Linked DNA regions of Homo sapiens: regions 2 and 3 are each linked to region 1. The links are contacts of gene promoters, found by promoter capture Hi-C in blood cells and fetal thymus (Javierre and others, 2016). All regions are on one chromosome and are shown on one strand. The core of a region is centred on a gene start or on the middle of the fragment in contact, and the rest is flanking DNA. Distances in the headings are between cores, read along the strand shown.

Region 1 (4,103 bases), core at 425-2,924:
AAGCCAACTTAATACGCTTTCTGCTACACTTCTTACAGTTTGTGATATTTATACATATTCACATTTTGTGTTAAAAGGGAACACTGATTCCTTAACAACATCTAATTTTCCACAGCGATATATTAAAATAACCACCTGCTTTGACCATAGTCAATCATTCTATTTTTAGCAGCGGACTTTTCTTTACCAAAAATAATGCATACATTTCCAAATCAGCTTGAAATGCAGGTTCCCATGCCAGGCATAATGACAGGCCCTCTAATTATATCAATCCAGGAAGTTCACTCAACTTACAAAGGATAAAAGATTCATCATATAAAAATCATTCTGCTTCCCCCTAATAGAGCACTATGTAAAGACTAATTTTAGTAATAGCAGCAAATTGATTAAAAGTTCAAGTTTCCTATTTAAATTCCTGCTTTTTCTCCTACATAAAAGAATTTTTGCAGGCATTGTCACCATTCTATTTGTGACAAGGCTTGTGGTATGTCTAGCATTATAGGTATTCAATTAAGAACTATTATCACAGCACTAAGCAACAGGGCTGGGCTTCTGAAAACAGGTAAGTGGAAGTAATGGAGACCTAGAGAGGACACAGGACATAGTTCTGGAGATTCAGGGGGAAAAAACAAGTAGTTCAACTAGTATGTAATAGACTCCCTTTGTGTGCTTAAACATAGACCATTGGTTTATTAGAAGGCAAAATATGCATGACTTTCCCTATTTATAAATCAAGGAGTCTTACAAGCAGAAAGATAATCCTCAAGAATGTAAACCATTCTTGGCATTATCCCTCCATCTGTAAACTAACTGCAGTGATGGGTACACAGCTAGGGAACAGCTCACGATATAATGAGAGGGATTTCATAAGGTACCATTATGCATGCTGATACTTCTGATGCACTGGCTCATTTTACTTCTTCACGCTGAAGATGCTTCTGGAAAGCAGATGAGCAAGACCTGGCAATGTAGATGGCAACTTAGCCTTGACGTTGGAGGTGCAGAAAGTGCTGCCCCCCACCCGCCAGACCAACCTGCCTGCCCGAGGTATCTGCTTGGGGGATGAGGGTGTCAACTGATAAGGTTTTGATGAACAGACTCTACTTCCCTAAGTTGTAAGGTCATGAAAAACACGAAGGGAGATTCTTGGTTACAGAAGAGCGAAAATACGAAGGCAGGGGCGGAGCACACGTGAATTTAGGGCACGCATCCCGGAGAAACGACCTCTTGGACCTGCACCTGTCCTGGCAGGTGCGCGCATCCCCGGCCACAGGCGCCGCAAGAAAAAATATTTCCCCGAGAGGCTACTCTATTTGTGTCATAACTTAGGGTACCCCACGTTGCAGGGTAGAAAGGATTTCCTCCGGTCGTTCTTCCATACCCTTCTCACGTTGAAGACGGCCACGGGCCTTGCGCCAAGCTGGACGAATAAAATACACGGTGAAGAGAGCGGGGCCGCGCAGTGACGGGCTTCCCGCCAGGGGACCCCACCCGCAGGCCCTACAGTCACCTGCACCCAAAGGCCCTGGCGCGCCCCCGGGCCGCGCCACCGCCCCTGCTGGGCCCGCGCAGCGTCTGGAGGCCGAGCCAGTGCTGCTGCAAGATCCGACCGCGTCCAGTCGCCATAGAGACAAGGAGTTCACCACAGGACCGCGCCAGGGCTGAAACGAAGAGTGCACGCACCGCCCCCACGCCCGCACGTCGCCACACCCCTTATGCGCATGCGCGCGTGAGCAAAAGTAACGGTATGCCCACCCTTGCGCAGACGGCACCGCGCCAGACACCCGCTCACAGAGCGGGCTTCTAGAAACTTCCGGGCCTCGGCTTCCTTACCCACCCCTAACATTCTGCCGCCTAGGGCGCCAAGCCAAGTTCGCGGCTTAACCATTTAGGAAACCGGTGCCTGCTTTGCAGCGGCCTCGTTCATCCCCACTTGCTGACTCTTTATTGTCCAGTTTTTCTGAAAACACAGTAAAACGCAAAAACTAAATCATTTGCCCACGCGGAATTGGCAAGACCACAGTCCAAGGGGGTATTTCCCACTGTGCACAGTCCTCTCTATAAGGATCAGGAAAACACGTAGATTGTAACTGCTAATTTGGCTTTTGCAAGTCCCGCCTGAACCACGTAGGGTGGGTGGTACCAATTCCCCCACCAACACCCCACTTTCCGCCGCTCCAGGGACGCGCAGCGTCTGCGCCGACGCTGGGCGCGGAGGCGTCTGGGGGCGCGGGAAGGACCTGCGCCGTGCTCTGGCCGCCTTGAATTGTGGGAGATGTAGTCTCTTTTGCGCGCCTCTTTGCCGTATCCCAGTTAAGAGCGAGGTTTTCAAACTACTATTCCCAGGAAGACGGGGGTTTCCCAGGTGACTTTGCGAAGGCATGGCGGGGACACTGTGAATGTCAGCCCAGAAGGTGATCAGAGCCTGTTAATTAAAATGGAAAGAAGACAGAAGGGAAGGTAGACATCAGGTTCTCCCTGGAGACTTTTCGTTTTCATTTACGCTGCGGAAACTGACGTTTTTGCCTAACACCCCATGTAATGTAAACGTATAGGCTTGAGTACGTGTCCGGCCGCATGTGTAGTGAACCCTAAAGCTTTCCTAATTGTAGTTAGCATCGTCCCTAAGCGGAACGATTTTCCGTGAACATGATTTGTACTTTTCTACGAGCCGTACAGTATACGGAGAAGCTGCACAGGTCCTCGGCAAAGCGATTGCTTTTGCCATACATCGTGCTTAACAAAGCGTGCTTGAAGACTGAGCCCAGTTTGAGATGTGGGCTTCAATATCAAAAGAAAACGCTGCGACCTAGATGTATTCTTGGAGTCACCCAGAAAACCATCTGGACGCAGGGACCGAGCCCCCGAAAAGCAAAGGAGGATGGCAGCAAACAAGTGTCTGTGCACAGGAGTCAGAGAGGGGGAACCGCCGTCCCAACATCACAAAAAGGTAAAAAGGAGTACTTTAATGATTGGGCTTTCAACAGACATGACAAGAGCTGCCAATGCCCTTTTATACCAAGTTCACTGCTAAAGGTGAAAAAGCAATTCACATGAATTTTTAAAAACCGTTTAAACATAATTTAGAACTAGAACATATAGATCTACAGTTTTCTTCACAGATTGGAACTCAGATGTGAAAGTTGATCTTGAATTTGATATAACTTTTTTTCATTATGTTTGGGAAATTTTTCTCAAGTTATATTGGCTCTGTTACATATAATAAAGAGTAATTGGATAGGATAAAAAGAGAGAGAGAGAGATTATTGACTCATAACTGGTAGGGAAAACTTTCACATGTTACCTGCAGTAATAGAAAAACATAAAATAGGGAGGATGGAATGTAAGTTGTCAGGGAAAGTCAGAGATGTATTCACAGATATTTTAAGATTTTTTTTTAATGTCTTCATTTCGCATGTGATTTGTAGGAAAAAAAAAGACAAAGCAATTTAGACCGCCATGATTATACCACACGAAGATGACTATTTTTAACATTTTGCACTTTCATACACATACCTTTTAATAATTTTTAACCCAAAAAATTGGATCATACCAATTGTTTTAGAGTCTGCTGACTATGCCAAAAACCTAGCTTTTCATTCATACTAGTTCAGCACGAAGGAACAACCTGTATGCAGAGGTGAAAGGCATAGAAGTGGCAAACAGCATGTGCATCAGGTCATCTGGCTCAGGCAACAGTGCTCATGCTTGCACTGCACACCAGGCCTGCTTAGGGACCCCTTCCCTCATCTGCACCCCATTCAGACGTGACAGTCCTTGTGGCTGAGTGAATTGATGGGAGCAACATTCCCAAATATGGAATATGCTGCGTCCAGAATTCAAACAGGCCTATGAAGCATTGTGGTAGGAGGTATAGGGTACAATTGTCTTTTACTTGGGAGGGCATGTCTTGGCACGCCCCAGTGTAGCCCCACGAGGTCGGCTCATGTGTTGATGAGCCTCTGCATCTTTGTTGGACCCACCTCTCACACTTGCAGCTTCTCTGACCAAGCCTTCTAACACACTTGCCACTTGTTACTTATGGGCTCTAACATGATGGCATAAATATAGTAGACAAATGTGATATTCTCCTGAATGTCCAG
Region 2 (4,103 bases), core at 680-3,179, 2.3 Mb after region 1:
CTGTATCCTGGAGGCTGAGCCAGCACCAGCAACTCCCCAGGGCGGTGAGAGACGTTGTCTACCTGGTTTTGAAGGAAAAAAAAAAAAAAACACCAGATTCCCTCTGCCTTGAAGATAACAAAACACACTAAGATTTCATCCCATTTTCACCACTCAGTTGAGGAACTGTCTGGATTTCACAATTACATACGATATACATCTCTTCTCGGCCCAGTAAATTCTGAGATTCTATAGACTTTACTTACTTCCTGACCAAGGTTCGGGGGGAAGGTACAGAAACAGGAATACGAAGTAAATCTACCAGAATTAACACAGAGTTAAAATACAGTATATGGTAAGATGTATCTAAACCTACTATAGTTGTCTTTTAAATAATTTTTCCTACTCTCCTGCTTGTGTTTTAGTCATCACTTAACATATATTTACATGTTTGCTTTCTAAAAATAGTTGCATTTCTAATTACTCCTGCTTTGTAATTTTCAGTACCATTTGAATTAAAGATTAAATGCCAGATCTTTTTTGGAAATGACTTTTAAGGCATGTTGAGAGCCACAAATTACACTGCTTTACAATTCGAATGTATACCATCGGAAAACATCTCAGGCTAGACATAAATACGATGATGGCTCTAGCTTTGGAAAGAGAAGCTTCAGCTGTTCAAGTCACGTGTGGCCAGATGCAGAGCATAAGGAATGCAAAACAGACAGTTGCAACTGCTGGTTTTTACCAGTCCATCTAAAATACACTTCGTACACTGTAGTGGATGCTAGAAATTTCAAATACAAATGATGCATTTATAGCCCCTATAAATATATCCTTCCTTATAGCTATTTAAGTCATTCCCCTAAAATATTCTTCAGTTAGAAAAATTAATTTTAAAATAAAGATACTTTTTAAAGAACAGGAGACATTCTAAAGTCATAGTAAAAGTTGTTCTTTCTTCCTCCTCCTCCCATAAGGTTAATTTTATTAATTATTCATAAATGTAAACATTTGACATGATTCTTTTCTTACAATAGGTTTGTGCCTTTTCAAAATTCCTGAAAATCGAACGATTCTGATAGTTCTCATCCAATGGTGGGTGGGAGGGTGGTCTTAACTGAGGGCAGAGGTCATTCCTCTATCAAAGAGAATGTCCTGCCCCACTCCCAAACTCACTGGTTCCTGGGACCAGAGAAAACTGAGGCCAGAGCTTGAATTTGAAAAATGCTGTCTCCTCTATGGCCCCTAGATACATTCCCGTAATAGGCTGCTGCCACTACACTTTCGGCCAGTCAGGTGGAAGGACTGAGGATGAGAGCCCCCAGGAGGGGAGGGAGAAGAAGGGAACAGCTACACTGTCAGCTCATGCCACCAGTTAGCGACCAGCCCAAGGGGAACCTAACCAAACAGTCGAACAACCAAATAATCACTGCTGCACAAACAGAGGCTTGTCCACAGCCCCCACCTCCATCTGCCTCCGAGAACCTCCACATCCCTCGGTGCCTCTCATACACGGGGAGATGTATTCCAACCATCACCCACTCAGACCCCACAACGGATGCACAGCCTGACACTACAATTCACTTGAAAAATGCAACTCTAAATGAGATGCAGCTCCCAACAACAGAGTAGGGGCCGCTTCCAAGGCCCTGTGAGCTAAATACAGTAATAAAATTAGTTCTTCACGTTTAGCCATTAACAATGCTGGAAGTGAAGCTCCAAGGTGCCAATTCGCAGGCAGCCAGGAAAGGCCTTTTTGCGGGATGCTAGTTAGGCAATAAATGCAAATTCAGGGAAGCAAGGATGTGCAAAGGAAGTCAGAGCGGCACACGTCCAGCTCCCCGAGCAGTGAACAAACCCACGGGTATTCCTTGGACTACGTTCAGTAGATAGACAACTGAACTTTTCCCACAGCTTCTAGAACTTTTGAGGGGGAGGGGGAGGGGGAGGGACAGCAAAGAGATGCATTTTTGAAAGAACTAATTGAGTGTGTCAGAATAGCTTTATCCAAGCACTAAAATGTATAAACATTAACAGCATGAAAGATGTCTGCTTTTGAAGAAGAAATATGACTTCCAAGTTCAAACATTTATAATGCAGATACCTAATCAAATAAATTTAACTTTCTTCCATTACAGTTCTATTACTAATAATTAAATCCATGTCTATCACTGAGAAAGTTACACATCTCCAGTTAAATTTGGCCAGCTGAAAACCAAAGAGAAAGCTGATATGTGTTTCCTGCACATTTAATAGCAATGCCTTCTTCAGTTGGAAATCTAGTAATAAGCGAAATACCACTTTTAATTAGGTAATTAACAGAAGTCCTTTTCCCCTAAATCAAAATAGAGTAAAAAACAAAATAATGCATGTCTTCAACATTTAAACAAGCATATTATACAGGAAAGTGCACACGTTTGGACAAGCTCCCTGCTGCAGAACGCAGTGAGCTTATATTTCAGTCTCTATCTCTACAGCATTAAGGTATAATGCAGCTGAAACTCTAAACACAGTCTCCAGTCAGACTTACAACCACTCCCACCAAATTCTTTTTAAAAGATTCCTTCTCTTAAATTATAAATAAGACCAATACGTATTCTGGAAAATGAACAAATAAAAATCCACAACGACCCAATACACTGAGTACTGGTTTTTCAAGAATAATCCATGACTAAACTCTACGTAAATTGCTAGGTCACATTATCATTTTTCCCCATTTGGTAAGACTGAAAACCATCTGTTGGAGTATACCTCATTTCAAAGTATTCTTTACAGAAGTCTCCTTTCCTTTTTCACATACGTTGCTAAACTTAATCACATCAAATGCTTCACTTATAAAACTCAAATATCTCCTTGCAGGGGGAAGTTAGGTAAATGGAATTAAAAGTTTCATTTATGAAAGTGGAGACAAAGTGCTTTTCACATTGTGACCTGTTTTCAAAGACCTCTCTCATTCCCTTCAGTCAATTTTGGTCTCTGGGACAACATCTTACAAAAAAAAAAAAAAAAAAAAAGTTAGAAATGTAGGACTTCAGGGTTCCAGGAAAAATAAAATCTCTAAATTAGTAGACTCTGAAGGTTGTTTACAGATAACAATGGGAAAACATTGGTGAGGTAAACTATTCTCAGGGTGTCAACAATTCATAGCAGACACATTTCTCAAAGTTAAAGTTCTTGATCTAGTGTATTTCAGGATATTAAGCCATCTGGAAAGATTATTCTAATAAACAAAAGCTTTCAGAAATAAAAATAGGCATAACTCCCATCTCTCTGCATTGTTGAAAGCTGTACCTACTAAACCTGCTATTTTGGTGTTGTGTTTCATTCTAGCGAGGCATCCCCATTCCTCTTGGTTAGTTTTATTACAGATCCACCGGGATTATTATTTTTTTAGAAGGTTAATGCGCTCTGGTGTTTCAGTATATTCAAATTAGCAAATGTTAAGAAAACAAAGCCCTACTAATGAATTAAGAAAAACATTAGACATGCTTGTGCCTTAACACACCAAAATTCAAATTCAATTACCAAAATATTTGTGAGTCTTACACAGAATTCAGTTCATCCCAGAGCCCATTCAAGATGGCCATGGGGGTCACTCCTGTGAAATTAAAGACGTCCTCCTACAAGTAACCCAACTCTCAAACCCCTGACACCACGGCAGGCTCCTACGCAACTTCACTCTCCAATTTTACTAAGGGGGGGCGAGGGGTTCTCAGACCCATGCACAATAGTGGTATGTGGCATATTTAATTCTGGCTGGTCTGTGTAAATATAAATAACAGTTACCTGACGACATAATCAAAGAATGCAAGTGAAAATGAAGCTGGAACAAATGATAAAATGAGCTCTTTTTATTTTACACGGCAGTAGCCAGTATCCTATCAAATAACATGCATGCCTAGCTCTTTTAAGTAACACATCCCTAAACCAAAATACTTCAATCATATTAATAAGGTGGTTTTTAAAATAAGCTGGAAAAGCTCCTTTTGGGAGGCTAGCCACCGTTGCATCTACTCGGGTCATTTTCTTTAATAGTATTTACTCCATAGCCCCATGGTGAACGTACATCACTCAGCTTTTAAATTACCTTCAATCAAGATTCGAAACTGCATGGCAGGCTG
Region 3 (4,103 bases), core at 703-3,202, 2.3 Mb after region 1:
GTGCACTGGTGCAATCACAGCTCACTGCAGCCTCAACCTCCCAGGTTCAAGCCCTCCTCCCACCTCAACCTCCTGAGTAGCTGGCTCTACAGGCGTGTGCTACCATGCTTGGCTACTTTTTTAAAAACTTTTTGTAGAGATGGGTCTCACTCTGTTGCCAGGCTGTTCTGAAATTCCTGGGCTCAAGTGATCCTCCCTGGCATCTCCAAGTGCTAGGATTACAGACATGAGCCACTGCGCCCCCAGCCTTGGAAGCTGTATTTTGATGTCCGAACAAAAACAGTCCCAAATTAAATATAGAATTTCTGACTAGACAAATTATTCGTGTTACTTTTTAAATCAGTGAGTACAGAATCAACAACTTAAAGGTTAATCAAATACCTCTAGCTTCCATGACAGCTTTCGGTTAAACAGCAGTTTATCCGGCATAAAACATAATCAGGTTCCAGAAACCTGGAATTTACTAACTGCTTCCTATTGACTCAACCATAAAGAAGCGTCGCTCAGGTTTGGTTTTTCTGTTGTGAATCAAATGCTGAAGTGAATCGAATTCAAGTTGGCTTTCACGGCTACTCTACACCTTACACACCTTCCTTCGTCCCCAGATCCTAACAGCCAACCAAAACACATCCACTGGAGAAAATACAATCAATATATTCTTTTATTATTTTTTAAAACATGGCAAACCATACTTTAATCAGAGAGCAATGAAGATTTCCACTTACAAATTTATCCAAGTTGGCAAAAAATAATTAGCTAACACGAATCTTTCCTTGTATGACGCAGCTGTCTGAAGCAGATGCCAGCTAGCACAAAGGCCGTACATGAAGTCTTATCAAGAATGGTGGCGGGGACTGTCGGGAAGAAGGTGCTGACGCCGCTGGTAGATGTTAGAATGAAAATAAGGAAGCTTAGAGTAAGGAGGAGAGCAGGAAAGCCAGGCCCATAACACTAGTTATGAAGGAATGGGGGCCTTTCTGAAGGAATGGGGGCCTGGAATCTTCCAACAGGAGTCACAAAGAATACAATTAAACCACTTGTGTGTTTTCTCCTACACAAAGTGTTTTAAGAGGCATAGGAGGGAGTAAGTCTCAGGAAGAGAAATAACACTGTACACTTCTCCGACTTAAAGCCAACTAATATACACACAAACTAGCTAGCACCTGCATGGCTTTCTACAACTTTTTCTATTGCGATGCATAAATGTCCAAAAACACAGAATCCAAATTCCGTGTCTTTTACAAAGAAACTGTAATGAGTCTTTAAAAAAAAAAATCAGGATCACTTATTAGTAGAGTCTTCAGATTTAAAATCAGGCATGTGTCTGACTTACGGAACAAAGGCCATTTCATAACACAAGCGGTCTCTGTCCTCCGTGACAGAGGAAGGCGGATTTCCCCGAGGCATCCTGGCAGCCCGCGCAATGCATGGAAGCTACCACTAGATGGCACCTGCGCCCAAGCTATAGCCCGACTCCCTCCTGGTGCTGGTGCTACGCGTGTGGTCCCCGTACATGGAAGAGCCATCCACTTTTCAACAACAGGCATTTATCTGCAAAAGACTTACACCAAGAGCTTGCCTTAAAAGATCATCAGGACAAATGCAAAATGCACATGTCTTATGAAGCACAGCACTGTCAGTATAGCAATGCATCCTTTTGATCTGCATCTTACATTTCAGTTTGCACCTTCAACAATATTTTCAGAGGCTAAAAATGCAGAGGGCTTTAAATTAATAATATATTTGCATTTTGGCATAGACGGAATTAAGCAAACTATGTCCATGAACATTACATGTGGGGGATTATATATATAGTCAGCATATCCAACTTCAAAAATGTCCAACCTTGCAAAAACTTACTCAAATGTAATGAGTTAGCAATTGACTTAAAGTATGTTAGTCATTTAGTAACTGACTTGAAAATGCTCTCCATGCTGGCTTCAAGGCAGCTCATCTCAGCGAAAGCCTGGGTGCGTTCTAAGCGCTAGAGAGGAGGTTCAGGAAAACAGCACCTAAGTTGTCTTCTGTCACCTCTAGACTCGAGGTCCACAGGTCTGACTTCTAGCCCCAGGGCCCCCCTGATACTGTATAAGTCGGGAAACACTCTCATCCCTTGAACATAGCTCTGGGTGACATCGTCCATTCAATACCGGTCCCAGGTGGTCACCACCTGCAGGAGGAGACCCAGCCACCAGCCCTCACCATGTTTCTGCTTGGAACCAGCAATAATCACTTAAGATTGTGAGTGACATGTGGATGAAATGGAAACTGCTAAGATACCTGGCTCTTTGGCCTAGTTTGGTCTCCCAGTGGGGTGGTTTCAAGGGTAAGGATGTGCCTCTCCCACCGTGGGATGAGCAGACCATCACCGCAGAGCAATCAGCCCTGCCCAAGGGCAGCAGCCCTTCTGAAAGTGGCCCTTCCTGCACACGCCCCCACTTTAGCAAACTCAGGCAGGAGGGTGTGAAAGGGCTGGAAATTCAGAGTGAGCAACTGGAAGGGGAGACAGATGGAGGGACAATTTCCCAAGAGGCCGACTTGGGGCAGAAGCCAGAGAGGGAAAAAGACAACCCCCAGGTCTGAGCCTAGGCCAGAGATGAACACAGGAGCAGGCGAGGCTCACGGTGTTCACGACACAATTTTCTAAGTCCTTTCACAGAGGTTTATGTTACAATTATTGTCATTCTTTGGGTACTGTGATGTGTGTCTTCTGGTAAGACGGACTGAATAATTTGAGAAACAGCTATTTCTGAGCACTTGGTAGGATTTGCTACCTAAACGCCCAGAAAGTTAAAACTTCATTATTTTAGGACACTAAATAAACAAATAAACATCCCAGCTTTCCCCATTAGACATTCTTACTCTTATCGTTCTGATGAATTCACAACCTGGCTGGTACTGACCCCGTACTTGGTTGAGTGTGGATTATAAAGCTATAAGCAGAGAGGGGTGACCAAATGGAATCAAACTACGTAGGCACGGCCTGTCTGGTTAGGAAGCTTGTCCACACAGAAAGCCAGGCAAAACTAAAGCATGTTATGGTTACACATATATAAACAAATGTGAAACATGTAGGTTTTCTACAGCTCCCACATGCAGAGTTCAAACTATTATGTAATATAAATATTGAGTCTCAGAAGTTCCAGTCCACCATGGATACCTAAGGAAAAGATCTGACATTTTACTTAAAAATTTCAGCAACTCTCCCCAAATCACAACACTATATTGTTCCTGAAATATCTCAGGCAGGCTTCCTTAATCACACTGTAAGTTGTAACAAAAGGGTTGTAATTATAGTGTCCATTAAAATGATGTAAACACAATATATATATATATACATTTCTCCTTCAGACTTCATTCCTTCGTTTTCCTCTTCTCTCCTATTTTTAAAAAGAGGAAATAACTGTATTTTCCTTTCCTGTACATCTTAACCCATTTATGCCTAGTGTTCCATTATTGGAACGCTAAGCTCATGGGAGTTATTTATATCCTACTGCTCAAGGTTGTCACCAAGGTCTGATTTTTCACTAAAAAAAGAAATTTGCAACCTCCGGCATAAATGGGTTAAGTTTTGTTCTTATAGTTCACCTTCAATTTATCTTTTTTTTTTTTTTTTTTGTGAACCAAAAAAAAGAATTTCAAGCCCCAATTGAACAATGCCTCAGACAAATCTCTGGAAAGCCCTAATTACTGCATTTATCTTCTCAACCACTCAGTCATATTTCTATTTTGAGAAGGAGTTACAAAATAATATCTCTGCAACTGTTTCGCAGGAGCTCGTTGACCAAGCTGGAGCCCTGGATCTATGAATTCAAAATTTTGAAAGCTAAGTAAGCTGTTTTCCATCAAGTACTACATCAAAAAGCTGGTCACAAGAGGCCAAGCCTAAGTCCGTCCCTCTCCGCCCACGGGCTTCTCCGAGGCCATCTCCGAAACGCCCTGCAGCTGCTGGCAGAGCCCGCATGGGCCCCTATGTGGCCCCTGGACAGACCGACGGCACTCCTGGGGCAAGGTGAGCCCGGAGCACAACCGGCCTCCCAGTCAGTTCCTTCCCGGGGCTCTCAGAGCCAACCACACCCCCGCGCCGCATCTCTCCACCACCA

What was found. The method cuts DNA at HindIII sites, captures the fragments that hold promoters and counts their contacts. A CHiCAGO score of 5 or more calls a contact.
Region 2: a fragment that was not itself captured here is called in contact with the fragment with the promoter of FBXO15 in region 1 in 1 of 17 cell types (activated CD4 T cells); the score reaches 5.4 in activated CD4 T cells.
Region 3: a fragment that was not itself captured here is called in contact with the fragment with the promoter of FBXO15 in region 1 in 1 of 17 cell types (monocytes); the score reaches 6.5 in monocytes.

Annotation. Positions count from the first base shown.
Region 1 is chr18:74,146,160-74,150,262 of GRCh38, forward strand. FBXO15 (F-box protein 15) reads right to left here and starts at 1,675. Exons shown (of 10, transcript NM_001142958.2): 1 at 1,511-1,675. The coding sequence starts at 1,626. It overlaps TIMM21 (translocase of inner mitochondrial membrane 21), which reads left to right and starts at 2,364. Exons shown (of 6, transcript NM_014177.3): 1 at 2,364-2,950. The coding sequence starts at 2,650. RefSeq lists a silencer at 1,405-1,554 and enhancers at 2,245-2,364, 2,395-2,444, 2,525-2,614. The HindIII fragment of the contact is 3,433 bases long and covers 1-2,595 here.
Region 2 is chr18:76,486,612-76,490,714 of GRCh38, forward strand. All of the region lies in intron 1 of ZNF516 (zinc finger protein 516), which reads right to left. Among named protein-coding and RNA genes, the nearest start is that of ZNF516-AS1, 3.0 kb to the right of the region's middle. The HindIII fragment of the contact is 2,569 bases long and covers 646-3,214 here.
Region 3 is chr18:76,397,649-76,401,751 of GRCh38, forward strand. The region is part of intron 3 of ZNF516 (zinc finger protein 516); the gene reads right to left. Among named protein-coding and RNA genes, the nearest start is that of ZNF516-AS1, 92 kb to the right of the region's middle. The HindIII fragment of the contact is 2,089 bases long and covers 909-2,997 here.